Regions from separate parts of the Homo sapiens genome. Here region 2 is linked to region 1. The links are contacts of gene promoters, found by promoter capture Hi-C in human tissues and cell types (Jung and others, 2019). All regions are on one chromosome and are shown on one strand. Each heading gives the region's core, a stretch centred on a gene start or on the middle of the fragment in contact. The rest is flanking DNA. Distances are from core to core; before and after follow the strand shown.

Evidence for each region. The method cuts DNA at HindIII sites, captures the fragments that hold promoters and counts their contacts. A contact is called where the count stands out against the background at its distance.
Region 2: a contact is called between a fragment that was not itself captured here and the fragment with the promoter of CCER1 in region 1, in 1 of the 25 tissues and cell types used here (IMR-90 fibroblasts).

Annotation. Positions count from the first base shown.
Region 1 is chr12:90,953,709-90,958,090 of GRCh38, forward strand. CCER1 (coiled-coil glutamate rich protein 1) reads right to left here and starts at 1,468. Exons shown (of 1, transcript NM_152638.4): 1 at 1-1,468. The coding sequence starts at 1,034. RefSeq lists an enhancer at 377-476. The HindIII fragment of the contact is 9,241 bases long and covers 1-4,382 here.
Region 2 is chr12:91,313,467-91,318,208 of GRCh38, forward strand. The region is part of intron 8 of LOC105369896 (a long non-coding RNA gene); the gene reads right to left. LOC107984544 (a long non-coding RNA gene) reads left to right here. Exons shown (of 3, transcript XR_001749252.2): 2 at 1,990-2,101; 3 at 2,880-2,988. Among named protein-coding and RNA genes, the nearest start is that of LINC02823, 11 kb to the right of the region's middle. The HindIII fragment of the contact is 5,212 bases long and covers 110-4,742 here.

The DNA of each region.
Region 1 (4,382 bases), core at 218-2,717:
TCCTCTTCCTCTTCCAGCTCCTCCTCTTCCAGCTCCTCCTCTCCCTCCTCCACATATTCAGCCTCTTCGACCTCTTCTTCCTCCTCATCTTCGACCTCTTCCTCCTCATCTTCGACCTCTTCTTCCTCCTCGCTCGCCTCCTTTGCATCACACACCTCCTGGTCATACTCCTCCTCATCATCATTTTTCTTCTCCTCCTCTTCTTCCACCAGCAGCGGGGCAAGAGACTGGTTTTCCTCTGGGTTGGGACTGAATGCTAGAGAGGGATTCTGCACAAAGCCATACAGAGTTTCCTGCAGTCCCCAGGTTTCCTTGCTGCCGCCAGGGGGCGCGTCGTTTCCGGAGGATCTGGCTGGGGAGGCCTCGCCGCTCACCGTGGCCTTCTGCGCCCGCAGCGCCTCCTGCTGACGCTCCACCTTCTCCTGCTGCCTCATGTCCTCGTAGATCTGGTTCATGATGAATTGGGTGGTGTTGGGCGGCGCTCGCATGCCAGGCTCTCTCCACTCATACAGCTTGACCGGCCGCGGCAGCGTGCTCACATCCGCTGGCGGGCTCCGCGGGTAGGAGTGGCGAGGGTGGTGGCGCAGGCCGCGGCCTCTGCGGCCCCAGCGCTTCTTCCTGCCTGGGGGCTTCACCCAGCCAGGGTTCCAGGACCCGCTCCAGCAGGAGCAGCAGCAAAAGCAGAGAGGGTGCAGGCCATACACCCGAAACACTTGCACCGGGCAGGGGAATTTCCAGAATCCTGGAGGGGGTGGGCGCCAGGGCCCTCCCCAGCACCCCCAGTTAGAGCACACGGGTGGTTGGAACCAAAAGCCCGGGCCGTGCTGTTGCTTCGGCTGCTTCCTTGGGGGCCCATACTCGGTCTTGGGGCTATATCGGTGCGGTCTATTGTACGCTGGAGCACCCGGGCGCCTTCGATGGCAGGACGACCAGGAGCTCAAGGAGGCCGAGTGTGCCCAGCCACAGCCACAGCCGCCGCCGCCACCGCCGCCCAGGTTCAGAGGGTCTTCCCTTGTGTCGAGGGTCTGAGTCATGGTTCAGGGAGCTCCGAGAGGTCCAGATGGTAGCGACCTGAAGCTGTCGTCAAGTTTTGCCAGGTAGGACGGTCAGAAGAGCCTCGTCTCGTCAACCTGTCTCTCCACGCAGCGCCACGTGTCTACCCCTGGGATCACGTTTTCCTCTCCAGGAGGCTGCTCTCTTCCTGGTTTGCACGCTCTTCGGTAGTAATCGCTTGTCCTTCGCACCTGGGTTGTCTCGCCCAGGTGTGCTGGGTGGGACTGGGGCTGGGTAAGGATGGTGGGGGAGGAAGGTGTTGGCAGGCGACACGCAGTGAGACCCACTCCCGGGTCCCCACCACACCCGGCTCTGCTGAGGCACGGGCTGGGGCCGGGGGAGGCAGGGGTTGCGCAGTTACCTGCTGCTCCCTCTCAACCCAGGTGCTTCACTGTCGCCGTCCTGGCAGGACTGTGGTGGCGAGGGCAGCGGCAGCCTTTAAATACTGGCTGTGGTCTCCCGCGTGCCCACTGCGTTCTTGGTCACCCAGGGCAACAGCCAATTGGGGTCGAAATCGTCCTCCCTGTGTGCAAGGCCGGGTTCTGTCCGGAACCAGGCTCCAGGTGAACATTCGCAGGGGGCTTGTGACGCAGCGTTTGGGGGAGGTGAAGAGGGGTCCAGGCTGGGTTTCTGCTGCTCAATTCAAGCAAGTCTGGAGGCAGTTTATCCGAAAGCTTTGTATCACCTTGAGGCGGGGGTTTAGAAGATGGGCCTTCATCTGAACCCGGTGGGGGCGGGAGAACTTGAGTTTTGAAAACCCCACATTCTACACCTTTGGAGGGCCTAAGGGATCATGGAAAATTACTGGAGAAAGGAAACTTTGCCCAACCTCTTACCTTCTGGCCGGTGCCAACTCTTCTTACTCCTGAGAATTGGGATTCATAATACATAAAACAAGACCACGAACATTTATTATTGCATGTGCTCACTGACAAATAATCCTGTCATCTACCCTGAGAGGTAGGCGTATCTTATCACCTGTCACAGATGAGGGAACTGAGAGCTTAATTTCCCCATGGTTGTGGGGCTAATAAATTTCCAGGCTACGATTTAAGCCTAAACCTGTTTGACCCAAAAGTTAGGTTCCTAATGACATTGCTATGTGTTCTACCAAACCCCCAGTAGGACCCTTGTGATAACTAAATGACATAACATTTGGGAAGGTACTTTGCTATTGGTAATATACCGTACATGTGTACCTCAATTAAACAAATATTATTATTACCATAATGAATACCACAGGTTTGTCCTTGGGAAGAGGAATATTCTGATTGTCTTTCCTTTTGTCCCTTCACTGACCATACAGCATATACACGGGAAGCCTTTAAAGCATTGTGGTTAAGCATATGGGTTTTAATTTAAATAAATGGGATTCAACTTCAACTCACCAATTATTAATCTCTGTAAGCCTCAGTTTCCTTACCCATACCATGATTATACTACCTTTTCCATACGGTTGTGTAAAGAATTAAATGCATATAACAGGTCCTCTAATATTAATGTTTTGCTCAATGTCATTTCCTTATAACGTTGCTGAGGCAAAACAACAACAATAACAAAACCACGTTTCATTATATGTCTTCTCATTTAAAAGTAGCAGTTTCCAAGAACCTATGATGCTAAGTGAGGACTTACTGTAATTCCTTCAAGTACTTAGTGCAGGTACCCTGTAAGTACTCAGTAACTGTTAACTATCATCCTTATTTGTAAATACTTCATGACTTCTAAAAGAGATGATATAGTATATGTAAAGGCACTTGTTCTTGATGCAAAAATAGGCATCCCCACCCTGGCTTGTGTCCTTTTCTTGTCCTTCTTTGTAAAACGTCAAGGAAAGTGCTACCATACTTGGTCCTAGAGAAAACCGTCTCAGTTTATATCCCTTTCTTACTTTTCTGTGCTGAGTGGAATTGCACAAAATGGAAAACTGCCTGCTGGGAACTTCAGTCTATATAAGGCTCCATTAAATGCCAGAAAAGCAAAATGTGTGAAAGCCCTGAAGCTGGCAAAGGTCATTTATGCATTCCTGGCTGAAAATTGAGAACATTATAGGGGGTCTTGGATCAGGACTCCAACATTTGCCCTGAGACCTGTAGAATCCACAGGCTTCATTTAATTTCATTTGCTCTGTGGTTTGCTGAGGACACCCCTGCTTGACTCAAAGTACAGAATGCTGACATGTTTAGCCTGCAGTATCCCTTTCTAGATATGGACTCACCTTTGGCAGTTATTCTGACCCTGCTCTGTGTACTCAAAATGGAATGGTGAGAGCCCAGTTTTATTTTTTTCTAAGGACGTGTGTTATGCAAAAATGGGTTTTAATTGAGAGCATTACAGATGGACCATGTTGCTGTGTTGAAATTCCAATCAGTTTCTTTTTGTTTTAAAAGAGATGGTTAACTCATTTTACAGGTAATTAAGGACATCATTTTTTGATCAGTTGATGTGACCTTTATACAGTTAATCTTGGCATTATATACTTTTTGCATGGTGAGAATATTTATTCTCCCTACTGAACAACATTGACACGTTATTGGCTTGCCCGAATTTTCTTAAGAGAAGCAGCAATTTATTATTTTGATTATGATTTTAATTTTACAGAGATTGGAATTATAATACAAGTTTTGAATGTACTGGTAAATCATCCAAGAAAATTTACCACTAAAGCATGTTAAACAAAAAGTCAGACATTTAATTAATTTTTAAAGACACTTTTATAGTTCTTTTTTTAGTGACAAATTATTGTATATATATATGGCACCATGTGATATTTCCATACATATATACTTTATGAAATGATCAAATTAGGCTAATTAGTATATTCAAGTATTTGTCGTTTAATTGTGGTGAGAATTTAAAATCCTCTCTTATAGCTATTTTGAAATACACAATACATTGGTGTTCATTGTAGTCACCTTGATGTGCATTAGAACACCAAAACTTACTCCTTCTCCCTACCTGTAACTTTGTACCTGTTGACCAATGTAAGGACACATTTTTAATTGACCCATATTCTTTCAATACCATGAAATGAAATATTCTGATTCAATATTGAAATATAACACATTCATCCTGTTGTTGAATATTGTATTAGCTTTCTGTTGCTGCATAACAAATGATCACAACCTTGGTTACTTAAAACAATATACATTTATTATCTCAAGGTTTTCAGGAATCAGGGGTCCAGGAATATCTTAGTGGGCCCTTTGTCCATGGGTGCAACAGGCTGTGATATGGTTTGGCTGTGTCCCTACCCAAATCTCATCTTGAATTGTAGCTCCCATAATTCCCACATGTTGTGGGAAGGAGCCAGTGGGAGATAATTGAAT
Region 2 (4,742 bases), core at 1,466-3,965, 360 kb after region 1:
CTAAGAGCCAACAGAGGAAATGAGAGAGAAAGTGGCTGGCAAAGAATAAGAAAGCCAGAAGGGCAAGTGGTGTCACAGAAAGCCAGACAAGAAAGTGCCTCTTAAAATAGGGAATGGACATCAGCCTCAGTGCTGTGAAAGGGCAATAAATGAGATGGTATGAGAAAAACACCTATTACACTTCCAGACATGTAGCAGGTATTCAGTAAATGTTACTTCCCTTAACTTTCTGTTTTCTTTCTAACAGTGTTTAGTGGTTAAGAGTGTAGGCATAGGAGCTGATCTGCCTGAGTTCAAATTCTTCCTCTGCCATTCCATAACTGTGTGACCTTAGGCAAGTCATTTAACTTCTCAGTACCTTAGTTTCTATATTTTATTTTTATTTTTTGGGGATGGAGTCTCCCTCTGTCACCCAGGTTGGAGTGCAATGGCACCATCTCGGCTCACTGCAGCTTCGGCTCACTGAACCCTCAACTGGGTTCAAGCAATTCTCATGCCTTAGCCTCCTGAGTAACTGGGATTACAGGCACATACACCATGCCTGGCTAATTTTTGTATTTTTAGTAGAGACCAGGTTTCACCATGTTGACCAGGCTGGTTTCAAACTCCTGACTTCAAGTGATCCTCCTTCTTTGGCCTCCCAAAGTGCTGGGATTACAGGCGTAAACCACCACACCCAACCAGTTTCTATATTTTAAAATGGAGGTACCAATAGTGCTTAATTCACAGGGATGCAGCTAACATGTTGCAATCAATCAGTAATGTTAATTACTATTTCCTTTCATAATTGTTTTTTAAAAGTATACAATAGGTATAATTTTTTTCAATTTTCATAATTTTTACTTGGCTAAGTGTCTTAATTATCTCAATTATATTTCCATGGCCAGTGAGATAATAAGCAAAGCCCACCCTTTCTTTTCACATTGTACAGATATCCACTTTTTAAACATGTTTAATTGACATATAATAATCCTATATTTTTACAGGGCACAATGAGATATTTTGATGTATATGCATACAGTGTATACTGTAGAATATTACAATTAAATCAAGCTAACATATCTATCACTTCACCTATTTTTTATTTGTAGTGAGAACACTTAAAATCTACTCGTTGAACAATTTTGAAATACACAATATATCACTATTAAGTATAGACATCATGCTGTTCAATAGATCACTGAAATGTATTTCTCCTGTCAAACTGAAGCCTTGTACCCTTTGGTCAACATCTCTCCTTCCCCTATTTTCCCACTGCCTCTCCCAGTCCCCAGCTCCTGGTAACCACCATTCTACTCTACTTCTGTGAATTTGAATATTTTAGATTATACATGTAAGTGAGATCATGCAGTATTTGTCTTCCTGTGCCTGGCTTATTTCACTTAGCATAATGTTTTCTAGTTCATCAGTGTTGAAACAAATGACAGAATTTCCTCCTTTTTTAAGGCTATATAGTGTTCCATTGTGCATATATAACACATTTTCTTTATCAGTTCATCTATTGATGGACACTGAGATTACTTTCCTATCTTGGCTATTGTGAACAATGCAGCAATGTACATGGGAATACAGATTATCTTTTCAACATACTGATATTGATTCTCTTGAATATATAGCCAGAAGTGGGATTGCTAGATCATATGATAATTCAATTTTCAGTTTTTTCAAAATCCTGTTTTTCATTATGGTTGTACTAAGTTATATTCCCACTAACCATTTACCATGATTCATTTCTCCACCTCCTAATGTTTATATTTTATTTTCTGAATAATAGCCATTCTAATAAGTGTTAGGTGATATTCTGTTGTGGTTTAATTTGCATTTTCCTGATGATTAGAGATGTTGAGCATTTTTTCATATATCTAGTCACCTTTTATATTTCTTCATTTAAGCAATGTCTCTTGAGGTTTGCCTTAATTCATTTGTGCTGACATAATAAAATACTACAGACTTGATCATTTGTAAATAACAGTAATTTGTTTTTCACAGTTCTGGAGCTATGTAAGTCCAAGATCAAGGCATCAACAAGTTCCATGGCTGGCGAGGGCTGCCCTCTGCTTCCAAGATGGTGCATCATTGCTGTGTCCTCACATAGTGGAAGGTGAAAAGGCAAAAGGGCTGAATGCTGAATAAGCCTCTTTTTAAGGGCCTTAGTCCCATTCAGAAGAGAGAAGGCCTCATGACTAATCACCTTCTACAGGCCACACCACTTAATACTATCACACTGGTAGTTGTTTCAGCATATGAGTTTTGGGGGACAGCCAGACCATAGCAAAGTTCTTTGCCCATGTTTTAATTAATTGGGTTGTTTTCCTGTTATTGAATTGTTTAAGTTTCATATATTTTGGATATTTGTCCCTTATCAGCTATATGGTTTGCAAGTATTTTCTTTTAATCTGTAATTTTTCTTTTAACTCTTTTTTTTTTTGTTGTTGTTGTAAAGTTTTTTTAGTTTGATGAAATTTCATTTGTCTATTTTTGCTTTTGTTGACTGTGCTTTTGGGGTAATATCAAAGAAATCATTGCCTAGAACAATGTTGTGGAGCTTTTCCCCTACGTTTTTCTTCTAGTAGTTTTACAATTCTAGGTCTTAAATTTCTTTCTTTAATCCATCTTGAGTTTATTTTTGTCTTTAGTGTGAAATAAAAATCCAATGTTATTATTCTGCATTTGGATATTCTACTTGTAAAGAATACAGTTATTTTTATTGTCTGGAGTCCTGACAAGAAACAGAACTCACTTCAGATTGTTCAACTGAAAAACAAAACAAAACATTAATGTATTGTACTTTCTGAGGTATAGGAATAGCAAAAGGAGTAAATCAGGGATGGTGGAGCATGCTGAGACTAGCAACAGCTGAAAGTAATTTCCTCTCACAGGACCAAAGAGGCATGAGGAAGAAATGGTGTTACCAGCATTCACTGAGGATTAGAATTGCAAAAATGTTGCTTTCTAGTGGGAAAAAGGAAAAAAAGTTATTACCAAGGACAAGGTAATGTACAACTTCCTCTCCTCCCACCTTCCTATCTCAGTGCACTAGGACCACTGTCTGGTTAGAAGCAGAAGCCAGCTGGCAAAGAAATTACAGTGAGGCAGTTTGCAGAAATTAGCTTTCTAAGGCCCAGATGGAGCGTAGCATGGTGGAGCATAGACTAAGGGAACAATGAAAGACCATGGATGCTTTGATATTCTCTAGTGTCATGTTCATAGTCAAGTCCCAGTAAATAATACCCAGACACAAGTGATTCCTCCCAGTTTCAATATCCTCCTTCCATGCTGGTAGCCTATCTACAGTCAACACCACCAGCTTCTAAACTATGCTTTATGTCACCAAGATTTTTACAGTCATTAACCTACATGGTGTCTCCTTAGCACTTTGCTTCTAATTAAAATATATATACTGATATATGTTGTATATATATTCAGTTGCAAAAGTGTTTACAAATTATTAAAGTTACATGCATGATCCAAACTCTTCTGCAAAATAAGCCAAAACTCTTGTTTGTTTTCAAGATCTGGACAGAATTCCTTGATTTGACTACATCCCACAAGAATGCTTTCATTCCTGCTTTTTACTGGAAACTTTTAAACTGTTGACACCACGGATTTTAAAAAATAAACAGATGGGCATAGCTTCATGACTTCATTTTATATTGTAAATATAAATATTCAGAGAGATAAAAGACAATGTCTCTATTTTTAATGTTTGTAAATTTAAAAATTTGCCGACATCATTTTATCCATATATACTTTGCTTGGCTTTTGTCCCTTAATAGATCTATAACTGTGTTGGGAAGTTGTTTAATCATAAGTCATTCTAGGTAAGTTAGAGTTTTAAAAAAATAAAAATGAAAGAATTAAAAAAAAAATAACCCTGATGTCAAGATAAGTAAAAATGTGAGATTAGCAAAACTGATTACAGTCACGGTAGAAAGAACATAAATCCTTTTCAATAATTTTTTTCTTTATTAAAAAAAACCCCTTTTCTCACTTTACAGGGGAAAAAAAGGGTATTTGGCATACAGTAGTACTGGACGTTATCCAGAGAAGAGTTTTTTTCAGAACTTGGTCCCTTTTCTAATCTGAACAAGTTCAAGCTACAGCAAAATTACAGTTTCCCAGTCTCCTTTTAATTTCCAATTTTTGTTAAAAAGGAACCTCAGAAGATATTGACTTCGTACTACTAAATTTGAGACAGGGCAGGTTAGAAATGTTTGCAATTTAACTAATATCAGTAACCTAATGGTGATGAACAAAATTTATATGTAGATGGAAAAATTTAAGCTAGTAAACACTATTTTGTCGTTTTTAATTGAGATGGATTTTTACATTTTTTTTTGTTCTAAATGGATATTTTACCATCACAAAACGGATGGTAATTATAAATTACATTTTGCCCAACATGGAATCAGAAAAAAGAAAAGACTTTTCATGATGCATCAATAAATAATGATTACATATCAGCTGAGCACAAAATCATGGGTCAAAATTAATAAATACAAATAATTTATGTTTTCATTTTCTGTGTATCAGATTTTGTTGTTGTTGTTCAAGAGTAATTTGTCCAAAATTTGTTTCCACATAATTTGATTACATTTATATTTTAGGGAGAATTCTTATAGTCTGGTTGGTGCTTTGCTCATGTCAAAGACATGTAATAAGCAAGTCATACACTTTGGGATCTCAATTTCTCTACAGAGAGTGGAGCCCTAAAATGGATGAATAATGAGACAAATAGTACT